Regions from separate parts of the Homo sapiens genome. Here region 1 is linked to region 2. Evidence: promoter capture Hi-C in 16 types of primary human blood cells and fetal thymus (Javierre and others, 2016). All regions are on one chromosome and are shown on one strand. The core of a region is centred on a gene start or on the middle of the fragment in contact, and the rest is flanking DNA. Distances in the headings are between cores, read along the strand shown. Region 1 overlaps BIRC6 (baculoviral IAP repeat containing 6). Region 2 holds the start of BIRC6 (baculoviral IAP repeat containing 6).

What was found. Contacts are between HindIII fragments. The CHiCAGO score rates a contact against its expected background, and 5 or more counts as called.
Region 1: a contact is called between a fragment that was not itself captured here and the fragment with the promoter of BIRC6 in region 2, in 1 of 17 cell types (M2 macrophages). The highest score is 6.9, in M2 macrophages.

What each region holds. Positions count from the first base shown.
Region 1 is chr2:32,399,786-32,406,182 of GRCh38, forward strand. BIRC6 (baculoviral IAP repeat containing 6) reads left to right here. Exons shown (of 74, transcript NM_016252.4): 7 at 1,378-1,600; 8 at 1,678-1,838. Among named protein-coding and RNA genes, the nearest start is that of BIRC6, 46 kb to the left of the region's middle. The HindIII fragment of the contact is 682 bases long and covers 2,875-3,556 here.
Region 2 is chr2:32,353,403-32,359,550 of GRCh38, forward strand. It overlaps BIRC6 (baculoviral IAP repeat containing 6), which reads left to right and starts at 3,621. Exons shown (of 74, transcript NM_016252.4): 1 at 3,621-4,084. The coding sequence starts at 3,760. RefSeq lists enhancers at 3,292-3,804, 4,319-4,831 and silencers at 3,308-3,677, 3,838-4,067. The HindIII fragment of the contact is 6,861 bases long and covers 3,112-6,148 here.

The DNA of each region.
Region 1 (6,397 bases), core at 1,966-4,465, 46 kb after region 2:
TTTAAATTTTTTATTTTTTAGAGACAGGGTCTTGCTCTGTTGCTCAGGCTGGAGTGCAGTGGCACGATCGTAGCTCACTGCAGCCTTGAACACCCAGGCTCGAGGGATCTTCCTACCTGAGTCTCCCGAGTAGCTGGGAATACAGGCACATGCTACCACACCCAGCTAATTATTTTTATTTTTATTTTTTGTAGCAATGAGGTCTCACTATGTTGCCTAGGCTGGTCTCAATCTTCTGGCCTCAAGGATCCAACCACCTTGGCCCCCCGAAGTGCTGGGATTACAGGTGTGAGCCACGGTGCCCAGCCTGTATTTTATATTTCTTAAACTTGTTATGTTTTTAATTTAACATTTCTTCTCGCTCAGTAAGCATTTATTTGAAAGAAGTAGTGTATAATTTATGAACTTTACATTCCTAAGGCTCTTAGGAAATAAATTTTATTTAAAAGTTATTTGTCTGATTTGATCCTATAGTGAATACATAAGGTATATTTCTGTGTTCTTAATATATATTATTTTATTCATACTAGAGATCTTTCTGCTTTCAGATCTTTTTTTTTTTTTTTTTTTTGAGGTGGAGTCTCACTCCGTTGCCCAGGCTGGAGTGCAGTGGCGCGATCTCGGCTCACTGCAGCCTCCGCCTCCTGGGTTCAAGCAATTCTTCTGCCTCAGCCTCCTGAGTAGCTGGGATTACGGGCGCCCACCACCATGCCCAGCTAATTTTCGTATTTTTAGTAGAGACGGGGTTTCACCGTGTTGGTCAGGCTGGCGTCGAACTCCTGACCTCATGATCCACCCGCCTCAGCCTCCCAAAGTGTTGGGATTACAGGCATGAGCCACCGCACCCGGCTGCCTTCAGATCTTTACTAAAAAACTTTTTAGTAAAATAATTTAGTAAAATATTTAGTAAAATAACTTTTTGTGTTATGAGTGGCATTTATCGAGTTTCAGCTGTATATCATTTATAGTTGTGGCCCCTGATAGATATGGAGAATTTTAAATTGAAACATAGTAGTTAATCATTCAAAGCTGTAGGAAACCAGTGTGAGGAAATAACAGGAGTTTAAACAATTTTGTAGTATGTAATATAGCATTGTATTGGTTTTTCAGTTTTTTCTGAGATTGACTTTATAATCAGTTAAAGTGAGTAACAACTGCTATTGTTGAATGTTTGGAATATTGAATGTGTGAATTTGTAAACGGTTGAACATGTTAGAGTGATCTTCATAAAACTGAATGATTTGGTTATATTAAGTCTTTAATGATGAATACTTTAAGTTCAGTTAAAAAAAGATGATGATCCTGGAGTTCTGTTTTAATGTACAAACTGAATTGCTTTATTTTTAGTAAACTTTTCCTTTCTAAATCTATGCAAAGGTCTGAACACGAAAGACATTCCCCAAACTGCCCATTTGTGAAAGGTGAGCACACACAGAATGTGCCATTGTCAGTCACTCTTGCAACAAGTCCTGCACAGTTTCCTTGTACGGATGGAACTGACAGAATATCTTGCTTTGGGTCGGGGAGCTGCCCTCATTTTCTAGCTGCTGCAACTAAACGAGGAAAGATCTGCATATGGGATGTTTCCAAACTTATGAAGGTATGTTTGAATTTTGAAGTAACAAATTAGTAATTGAAAAAAGATCAGTTGTAAACTTAGGCTTTTCATTTGTTTAGGTGCACTTAAAGTTTGAAATTAATGCCTATGATCCAGCAATTGTACAACAGCTTATTCTATCAGGAGACCCAAGCTCAGGAGTTGATTCAAGGAGACCAACTTTGGCGTGGCTGGAGGACTCCTCTAGTTGCTCAGATATACCAAAATTGGAAGGAGATAGGTATGTGAGTTTGTTTTAGTAGTATTTAATAGATGTTACATGTTTTCCTAAATTTTATATTCTCATAGTTCTAATAATTAAAGAGGAGGAAAAAAAAGTTACGCAGTTAAGAGATCAGAGAGTAAATGTTTGGTTAGAAATCTGAAATCTGTGATTCTTGAAGAAAAATCTTCATTCAGAAACACCGTAGTTTATAAAATATGCTTAACTTTCTATCACAATCTATGTCAATTGGAAATAATTGCCACATTGAACAATAGATGATGAAAAGTCAACATTGGAAAGTCTAAATAATGAAATGAAATTCTATTGTAGTTTCACCTTCTGCTAAATCTTTTCATAGAGCATTCGAACTAGATGATTTCAGTTTCCGTTTTTTCATTAGCACCTCAAATTATGGCAGTGCTAATGAATAATAATAATGGGATGACCTGAGGTGAGGCAAGAGGATCTAATTGTTTAAAACAGTGTACCAGTAGTCAGCAGTGAGTTGAGATACCATAATTATTGCTATAGAAATATTTTGGTAAAATTGCTGTTCTGGATTCTCCTTCACTCAACTTCTCTGAGAGATTCCTGATTTTTGTGGTGGGGTGGGAGAGTCAAAGTATCACCCTCTTTCACCCACTTGTTTCCTAAGAACCACTGTGGTTTTGACTGAACTGGGCTAGTAAGATTCTGTAGGTGGAGGGGAAGAAGATTGTGTAGGCAGCCATGTGAAATGGAGCTATTTAACTGTGATCAGATGTCTTGATAGACTGAGAATATCTGCCATTTCACTTCCAGGGGCTCCTTATGTTACTGACATGTGATGGGTGTTACTCTGTAGTCAGTGATTTATCATTTTACTTCACAACCCCTTTGGTGGGATGTCCTTTCATTAAGGAATAATGTAAAGTTTTATTAATGGAAATTATTTCATTAATGGAATTAGTGGAAAATTTACAATATATGTGTTACTTCTGTCTAGTTCCTCTTGGTAATAACATGTTGATTAAAGCCTTGTGGTTGTTCTATTAATATAAATCTCTGTGAAAGCTTAATGGGAAAGCAGCTTAACTGTTGTCTGAGTTTCTGACCATATTTTGCCAATAGGACTAGATATTAAGCATGCTTAATTTCTGTGATTTCTTAGAAGTTAGTGGAAAAGTAATAGAAGATAATGAAATTTATATGTCCTTCTAGGCACTTACTTTAATTTGAACTTTGTCTTGAAGTTTTGTAATTTGGGGATTAAAAATGGAATCAAAATATACTTCTAGGATTACATACACCCATACACATATAGTCACACCCTCCTAGGTAAAATCTGCATTTTAGATAAACATGTATTCTGTATTATTAGTGGAAATACTTCTCAACATTATATGGGGTAATGTGCTTGAGTTGAGGTAATCTCTACTTGCTTTTAAGAAATTCACAATCTAGGGTCGAAGGTCAATTTTCTCTGAAGAAAGTCTCAAACAAATCATACAAAAACATTAAGTTGATGTGGTAGGAGGAAGCTGAAGAGGTGAAACTTCATCCCTAACCTTAAGCCCCCTCTCTTCACTTCCCCTCCCCAAGAAGTAGGAGCAGTCCTGTTGGAATTGATAGTGAATATAATGAGCCACACTACCTCTCACTTTATGTGACACAAGATCCAATATGTTTGGTTATAAAATATACTATGTGGGTTTCATTAGCTTGAAGAATAATACATTAATTGGAAAAATCTAAGCTTATCCAAGAAGTTTAAAGTAATTAGCAATATAGTTTGCTTAGAATAGTTTTTGTAAAATTTGTTTTTATTTCTTATTTACATTGAAGGACTAAGGAATTGTTTTTGACAATTTTTTCTTAGAAGACTATATTTGTCTTCTGAATTAAGGAAGAAGATATGCTAATACATTTAATTTTAATGAATTAAGATTTCTTCTAGATGATTCACTTGTCATTTGTATATCAGGTCAAGTTGGTAAAAATTCCTTGAATGTAAATGAAATTGTTTATGGGATTGCTGTAAACCAAGGTACTGTTACAATATTAGTATGTCTGTTTTTCAGAAACACATATAATCTTAACTAAACATTTTTACTTTAACCATAATATTTATTTTGCATGTTTATTGCTTTGTAAAAGGTTTTGCAAAATGTAGAAGGCTTTAGTAAATACAGTGCCTATTATATAAATAGTGCATGCTTATTGCAGGAAAATGGGAAAATGCAGGAGTGGAAATTGATGAAATATAGAGTAGTCATAATCACACTATGGGATTATGGTAACATTTATATGTATTCTAGTTTCTTTTTAAAATGTGTGTGTGTTTTTTTTTTTTTTTTGGAGACAGAGTCTCACCCTGTCGCCCAGGTTAGAGTGCAGTGGCGCAATCTTGGCTCACAGCAACCTCTGCCTCCCAGGTTCAAATGATTTTTCTGCCTTAGCCTCCTTGAGTAGCTGGGACTACAGGTGCCCACGACCCCTCCTGGCTAATTTTTTGTATTTTTAGTAGAGAAAGGGTTTCTCCATGTTGGCCAGGCTGTTCTCGAACTCCGGACCTCAGATGATCCACCTGCCTTGGCCTCCCAGAGTGCTGGGATTACAGGCGTGAGCACCACGCCCAGCCGCATGTGATTTTTTAAAAAGTTTTATTGAAGTGTAATTTTCAAACCATACAATTCATGTAAGTGTACAATTTAGTTATTTTATTCATATAATTTTTTTTCTTTTTTTTTGAGAGAGTCTTGCTCTGTCGCCCATGCTGGAGTGCAGTGGTGCGATCCTGGTTCACTGCAATCTCTGCCTCCCAGGTTCAAGTGATTCTTGTGCCTCAGTCTCCTGAGTAGCTGGGACTGACCCGTGCCACCATGCCTGGGTAAATTTTGTATTTTTAGTAGAGACGGGTTTCACCATGTTGGCCAGGCTGGTCTCAAACTCCGGGCCTCACGTGATGTGCCTGCTTCAGCCTCCAAAAGTGCTGGGATTATAGGTGTGAGCCACTGCATCTGGCCTTAGCCATAAAATGTTTTTGTCACAAAATATTTTAAAAGAATGTGATTTTACAAATATATATATATAATTTTTTTTTTTCTCTTGAAACAAGGTCTTGCTCTGTCACCCGGGCTCACGGCTCACTGCACCCTTTACCTCCTGGGCTCAAGTCATCCTTCTACCTCAGCCTTCTAAGTAGCTGGGACTAAAGGCATGTACCACCATGCCCAGCTAATTTTTTATTTTTTTGTGGAGATGGGGTCTCACTGTGTTGCCCAGGCTGGTCTCGAATTCCTGGGCTCAAGCAGTCCTCCCTCCTTGTCCTCCCAAAGTGCTGGGATTACAGGTGTGAGTCACTGTGCCTGTTGCCTGATTATATTTTTGAGAACTTTCAGAATAAAACATTCTTTGCTAATTTAAGGCTTTTATCTGGCAACTGTCTTTGAAATATCAAGACACCTGAATTCCTTTAAAACATACTACTACTTAATTTTATTGTTCATCTTAGTACAGCAGGTTAATACTTGGTTATTTATTTTTCTTTAATGGGCAGCCATTCTATACTTAAAACCTGTTTTCTTGGTTTGGACTTCTTCATTCTTGATAATTCCCAATTATTAATATTTCTTCTTGGGATTCATTTTTACACTTACTCTGTTTCTCTGAAACCAGCCAATTAGGCTAATGAATTAGCAGCTGATTTTAAACTTTTTTTGCATTTTTTGCTTTTGTAAATTACAGCATTAAATTGGTTTATGGGCAACTGTTATCACCTGAAAAAACTAAAACAGAGAAACTTTTTCAAAAATATATAAGTGAATTTCCCCCAGCCGCCGCAAAATATTTCAAACATTGCCTTGGAGTGCAGTAATATCCTTAAGCATTTTCAGTGCGGAATACCACTTCATATTCTGTATAAAATAACATCGTAGGCCAGGTGCGGTGGCTTATGTTTGTAATCCCAGCACTTTGGGAGACCGAGGCGGGAGGATCACAAGGTCAGGAGATAGAGACAAGACTTTGTCTTGTCTTGATGACCCCCATCTTCTGAGTTGTCATAGTTTTCCTATATGTAAAGGAGTTCTTAGCCTCTCCAAAACAAAATACAGAACAAAAATAAAATTGCATGTACATGTGAGTACACAAACATACACACTTGCTTATACAACTATTATGTTTGGTTTTAGGCTGTCCTGAATTCAGTAATAGAATAGTTCTTAATGCTTTACTACTGCAAGCTGGTGCTTGATTTTATTAGTTGCTGCTGTCTTTTATATTTTTGTTTGCCCAAACTGTCCTTAGTCACACAGTAGTCTTCAAATTCCTACAAATGTTATTATGGATTCTTGGAGGTTTCCATACCCTATTTCAGTTAGGCATTTATTTAATGATTTAAGAAGATTTTTGTCAGTGTTGTTAATCAGTTATGATATCAAACTACTCTTTATATATCATTTAAGCCTATTTTAATTATATGGTTGAGATGTGTAGTAGTGATTTTAACACTGTACTTTCAGGCCAGGCATAGTGGCTCATGCGTATAATCCCAGGACTTTGAGAGGTAGAGGTGGGAAGATTGCTTAAGCCCA
Region 2 (6,148 bases), core at 2,371-4,870:
TCATCTCCGTTTGACACTTGGTGAAACAGTCTCAAAATGTATGACTAGCCCAAGTTCATAGAGGTGATCAATGATGCTACAGTTATGAAAATCAGATATTCATCCAGACTTTACTATGACAAAGATTCTTTGGCCAAACTTTAGTCAGACTTCTGAATCTTCTGCTAGGTCCATCCGTGCACTTCCTTGTAAAGTCTAGTTTTAGCAGAAAACTGAGCTAAGTCAGTTTAGCAAGAACCCCTCTTCCTCCATATCTGATCAGGCTCCTCATCCTCCACCATCTCCCAGGTGATGTCTGATCACTGTGGCCTGTCTTCAGCAAGAATCCTGTTAGATTGATTTGGCCAGAGTTTCACTTACCCCTGAGGTTTCCTCTTAGTAATTTTCTATCTACTGACCCCCTACATTGTTCCTTGGTGAATCAGATTCCTGAACCATTGCTCAAGACAAATGTCTGCCAAAGCTGGTAAGAACAGATGTGGATTCTTAAGGTATCAGTATACTCTGGCTGGGTTTGGTGGCTTGCACCTGTAATTCCAGCTACTTAGGAGGCTGAGGCAGGAGGATCGCTTGAGCCCAGGAGTTTGAGGCTGCAGTGAGCTATGATCATGCCACTGACTCTGGCCTAGGTGACACGGTAAGACGCTGTCTCTTAAAATAAGGAAAAAAAACGCCGGGCGCGGTGGCTCACGCCTGTAATCCCAGCACTTTGGGAGGCCGAGGCGGGTGGATCACGAGATCAGGAGATCGAGACCATCCTGGCTAACACAGTGAAACCCCATTTCTACTAAAAATACAAAAAATTAGCCGGGCGTAGTGGCTGGTGCCTATAATCCCAGCTACTCGGGAGGCTGAGGCAGGAGAATAGCGTGAACCCGGGAGGCGGAGCCTGCAGTGATCCGCGATCGCGCCACTGCACTCCAGCCTGGGCGACTGAGCGGGACTTCGTCTCAAAAAAAAAAGGAAAGAAAAGTATATTCTCTGAAACTGTGTTACAGTCCCAGGCTTCTTTTGAAAGGTACCTTCTGGGCTGGATGTTCTTTCTGGCTCTCTGTGAAGCCTCTGTATTCTCTCTATTGGATCTTGCTTCTCCCATGGGAAATTCTGTCACCTGAAACCCTTCTTCTCTGAAACCAGAAATCCCTACTGATTATAACCTTTGCCAACTTTGTCCACCACTGCCAGATCCTTTCCCTTCTCACTCCAGCCCCACAGTCACTTGCACTTTAGGCTCCCTACCCTCCACTGGGGGCTCTGAAGGGACTGAGAGGACCCTCCAAATCAATCACTTGAGGCTGAAAAGAGAGAAAAAAATGAGACTGTTTTGAAACAGGGCAAATAAAAAAAAAAGTAAAAAGAATTTTCCACAAATATTGGTAAAAAGCTTTAGCCCTTACTAAGTAGGTAAACTCAACTTGTCCCATTTTCTTTTTTTTTTTTTTTTCTGAGGCAGATTGTCGCTCTGTCGCCCAGGCTGGAGTGCAGTGGCACGATCTCTGCTCACTGCAACCTCCGCCTTCAGGGTTCAAGTGATTCTCCTGCCTCTGCCTCCCTAGTAGCTGGGACTACAGGTGCCCGCCACCAGGCCCGGCTCATTTTTTTCTATTTTTAGTAGAGATGGGCTTTCACTATGTTGGCCAGGCTAGTCAAAGTGCTAGGATTACAGGTATGAGTCACCGCACCCGGCCAAGTATTCCTATTTTTATGGCAATATAGTTATTTGCATAATTTCTATAAAAATGTGTTCTCCTGTAACAAGACATAATTGGAGGCACTGGTTGTATTAACCAGGTTTTGACTGGAATGTCATATTTTCAAACATGACCAGATGGCATTAAGGAGCTATGGTTGACTTTATGGAGCCAATAAAGTCTTCGTTTGAAAAACTGGCCTGATTGTTCCCAGACTTACAGGTGAGTGGCCTGAGTGGCCGGGCGCGGGGGCTCACACCTGTAATCCCAGCACTTTGGGAGGCCGAGGCAGGTGGATCACGAGATCAGGAGTTCAATACCAACCTGGCCAAGATGGTGAAACCCCATCTCTACTAAAAATACAAAAAAAAAAAAAAAAAAAAATTAGCCAGGCGTGGTGGCAGGTGCCTGTAATCCCAGCTATTCAGGAGGCTGAGGCCGAGAATTGCTTGAATCCAAGAGGCAGAAGTTGTAGTGAGCTGAGATCACGCCACTGCACTCCAGCCTGGGCGACGGAGTGAGACTCCGTCTCAATAAACAAACAAAAACAAACAAAAAAGCCAAAAAAAAAAAAAAAAAAGAACCACAGATGAGTAAGGAATGTCACTCTCTGGCAGGCCCAGGAACTTCAGTGTATTTTAGGGACCCCCAAGAAGAGAGGAATACAGTCAAATCTCTAAGTGTTTCAGATGTAGCCTGATGGCTAATAGTTTAAGATGTAGTTCAGGTAATCCATGAAGATTTCCTGAAGGAAGTTCGCATGAATGTGAGAGGGCAATTAACTTTTATAATTTTTATTGAGCACGTAGTATATACTTGTCAGATGCTCTTCTACACATTTTACAAATGATTCTTAATCCTCACAACAGATCTTTGATTAGGTTTTTAAGGAAAACTAGTTCTTTCCAAAATAACCTAATGATCACAAAACATATAGAACATACAACTCTGCATCTTGACTATGGTGCGTAGGTCTACATGTGATAAAATGACATTGAACTATACACACATCATACAACTATCAAATCCCTCCTTTTGAGATTGTACTAGAATTATGTAATATGCAACCATTGGGGGAAACTGGGTAAAGAGTAAATTGGATCTCTCTGTACTATCTTTGAGTAGTGTTTAGGTATTTTATAAAAATAATGTCCTACAGTTTGGGTTTGTCAAATGGTTTTCTCATAGTTAGATAGGGGTTATGGCTTTTGGAGAGAAAGACCACAGAGGTCTGTAGTATATTTTCAACTGTAATCTATTTCAAAATAAAAAGTTTTAAAAAAATTCTCCAAGGGGGGATGATTAGTAAATTGATTAGTCCTTTCTAGACCTCCAACACACCCCACCACACACTCACACAGACCCACACTCCTATTAATTCCGGTAACTCGGGTTGTTTGGAATGTGGATAGAGAAACTAAGCTTAACTATGCGCTTCCAGCACCTCGTATCTGGTACTTCTGTTCAACAGAAAGCCTTGGGAATGGGGAGGGCAGGCGTGGTAAAAGGTACAGGTTTGGGAAGGTCGCTCGGTTCCTTCCAATCCAAACGAGAGGCTTCTGATTGTTTATTCTCACACCAGAGCCGTGACCGAGACCCAGAGGTCCGCTTCCGGCCACGGCCGAACAGCTGCACCGTGCGTACCGGGAACGGTCAAGGCGCAGCTGGAACCGCTGCAAAAGGCCTCCGGGCGTACCGGACAGGTCGCAAGGGCGGGGGTCCCCACCTAGCGGAAATGCACGGAGGCCAACCCCTCCCCCTGCCCCCGCGAGGAGCGGGGCGGACTCGGCAGCCGCCACTCCCCAGGCTCACAGGAAGAAACTGGGACGCTGCGGACGCGGAACTGGCCAGACCCGCGGCGCGTGGCACGCGCGAGCCCTCCCGCGCATGCTCCACCCGCCGGCCTCCAGCCCGCGCCCCGGGCCCCGCCTCCCTCCCTGCTTCTCCCCCTCTCCCGTCAGCCTCCCTCCGAGTTTGGCCCCTCCGGCCGGGCGATCGACGTTCCGCGTGCGTGCGGGCGCCTGACTTCACTTCCGGCTAACGCGCTCGGCTTGCCCCCTGGCCCCGGATGGTGACTGGTGGTGGTGCTGCACCTCCCGGGACTGTCACTGAGCCGCTTCCCAGTGTGATTGTGCTGAGCGCAGGCCGGAAGATGGCGGCTGCGGCTGCGGCGGCCTCGGGCCCCGGCTGCTCCTCGGCGGCGGGGGCGGGGGCGGCCGGGGTCTCAGAGTGGCTGGTGCTGCGGGACGGCTGCATGCACTGCGACGCCGACGGGCTGCACAGCCTGTCCTACCACCCTGCGCTCAACGCCATCCTGGCCGTCACTAGCCGCGGGACCATCAAAGTCATCGACGGCACCTCGGGGGCCACACTGCAGGCCTCCGCGCTCAGTGGTGAGTCTTCCGCACGCCGGGCGGGCGCGAAGCCGGGGAAAGAAGCCGTCCAGCCCCGGGGCTCGGCCTCGCGACTCGGGGAAGCGAGATGGCGAGAGGGCAGGGCTGGGGGTTCGGGCCCAGCCGTGAAGGGAGGCCCGGAAGCTGATGGAGGGGGACCTTAGGACTTGGCTTTTTCAGCGGCTGCAGTTGGGAGGAAAGACCGGCGAGTCAGGGAGTGGTGGGAGGGGAGTTGCCTTTCGGGCCTGGAGCGTCCGGTCTGGCTTGGTCCTCCGCGAGAGGTGAGGAGACCTTGGAGCTTGGCACCGGAGGAAGCGAGGCCCGGGTAGGCCCTGGAGAGGCTGTCGGTCCTGCGTCCGGTTAGATGAGAGCGAAAGGCTGGAAGGGTTGACCCCGGGCGGAGAGGCTGGTGGCCGGAGGCGAGGGGCGGGGAGCGTCTGAGCCGGCAACCAAGCCCTCCCTTGTGGGAGAGGAGCCGGCAGTCTGCTGTTCTCAGGTCCCGCAGTGCGGGGGACAGACCGCGGGCTGTGCGCCCAGCGTGGGGGTGGGGGTGGGGTGGGGGTGGGGTGGGTCGTGGTGGGGGTGGGGAGGGAAGTAGGCGGGCCAGCTGCCTGAACTGCTTGGTCGACGACTGTAGGACTCTGCGGACGCCGAAGACGACTAGACCTGGTCCCCTTGCTCGGGGCTTCCAACTTCTACGCCCCAGTGACGAGAAAGTCAGGACCTGTGGTGTATGAAATAGATTCCTTTGGGTTTGTAACTTCAGGCTGTCTCTACTTGTTTTCCCACAGCGAGCCGAAAATTAGGATTTGAAGGTGTGTCTGAGTCTCACCATTGGAGGAGAGCACTTCTGGGTGGCGTAAACCTTGGTCCAGGGACGGGACTTTCAGATGCGTGAGGTGTATGCTCAGTGGACGGACTGGAGTGGTTTTGGAATGGCCCTGGCTGAGTTAGATTTGGCGGAGATGACATTTCATTTGTGGTTAAATGATGGGTGGCTTAATTTGGATGTTGTAGGTTTAGATTGAAAAGTTAGTGTATGAGTGAATCGGACTCCTGCATAGAGATGTAATGTATACAACTGTCTGCGTTTAGCCAAGTGGAAGTAGTTATGTGGTCAACCAATTCACTTGTATTTTAACGTAGACGAACAAGGAAAAGTTTACTATGTGAGTAATAAGGCATTTGTAAGAGTAAATGGCAATTTAGGGATGCAAACGTGAAATTAGACATGTTAATTATTGTTGATGTGAGAGTTGTGAAAGAATTGGATTATGTATAGTTTCAGGATATAAACTTGGAACATATCTAAGAGAAAGTTTTGGGAGGTAGGTTTGTAATTTTTTCTTTTCTTGGCTTAGGTAAATGATGGGGTGGCCCAGATGTAGCAGTGAACAGTTACTGCAACTTGGACATAATGGCTTCTCACTGTGTGTAAGAGGGAGATGCTCATTGGTAATTGGATGTCTTTCTTTTTAAAAGTCATTTAAAAGTATTTCAAGTATGAAAAGGTATGAAGAGTAATTACAGTGAACACCATGCATCCCCAACTCAGGTTAAGAAATAAAACTTTACAAATAGGATTAAAATCTCAGCTGAATCTCTCCTGGACTGCATTTCTCCAATCCTCCCTCTTCATAAACGTTATCTTTAATTTGATTTTATCCTTTTCATATATGTCTACACTTTCTAGTATATGTTTCTATCTTGAGGATGTAGTATTTTTGTGATTTTTAACTTGGAATAAGTGGTATATGTACTAGGATTTCTAAAGAAAGTCATTAACAAAAGTATTCAAGTGTTTTGGATAGAAAGAGGAATTTTATGGTGTGCTTTTTATGTCTGGAGGCCATGTTTGAGAATAATAATGTGTGTCAGGATTTGTTGGTTGGGGAAATTGGACATATATTTATGTGCCTGTACATGGAAGGAAAGACAATATTCACTTTAGTGGTAGATTACTAAAGAGGAGGGTTTTAGATGTATAACATGAAGGTGTAGGTAGATAAGTAAAATGTAGCATTGATTTGGGATAACAGGTTTTGTTGGGGCATCTGTTGATTA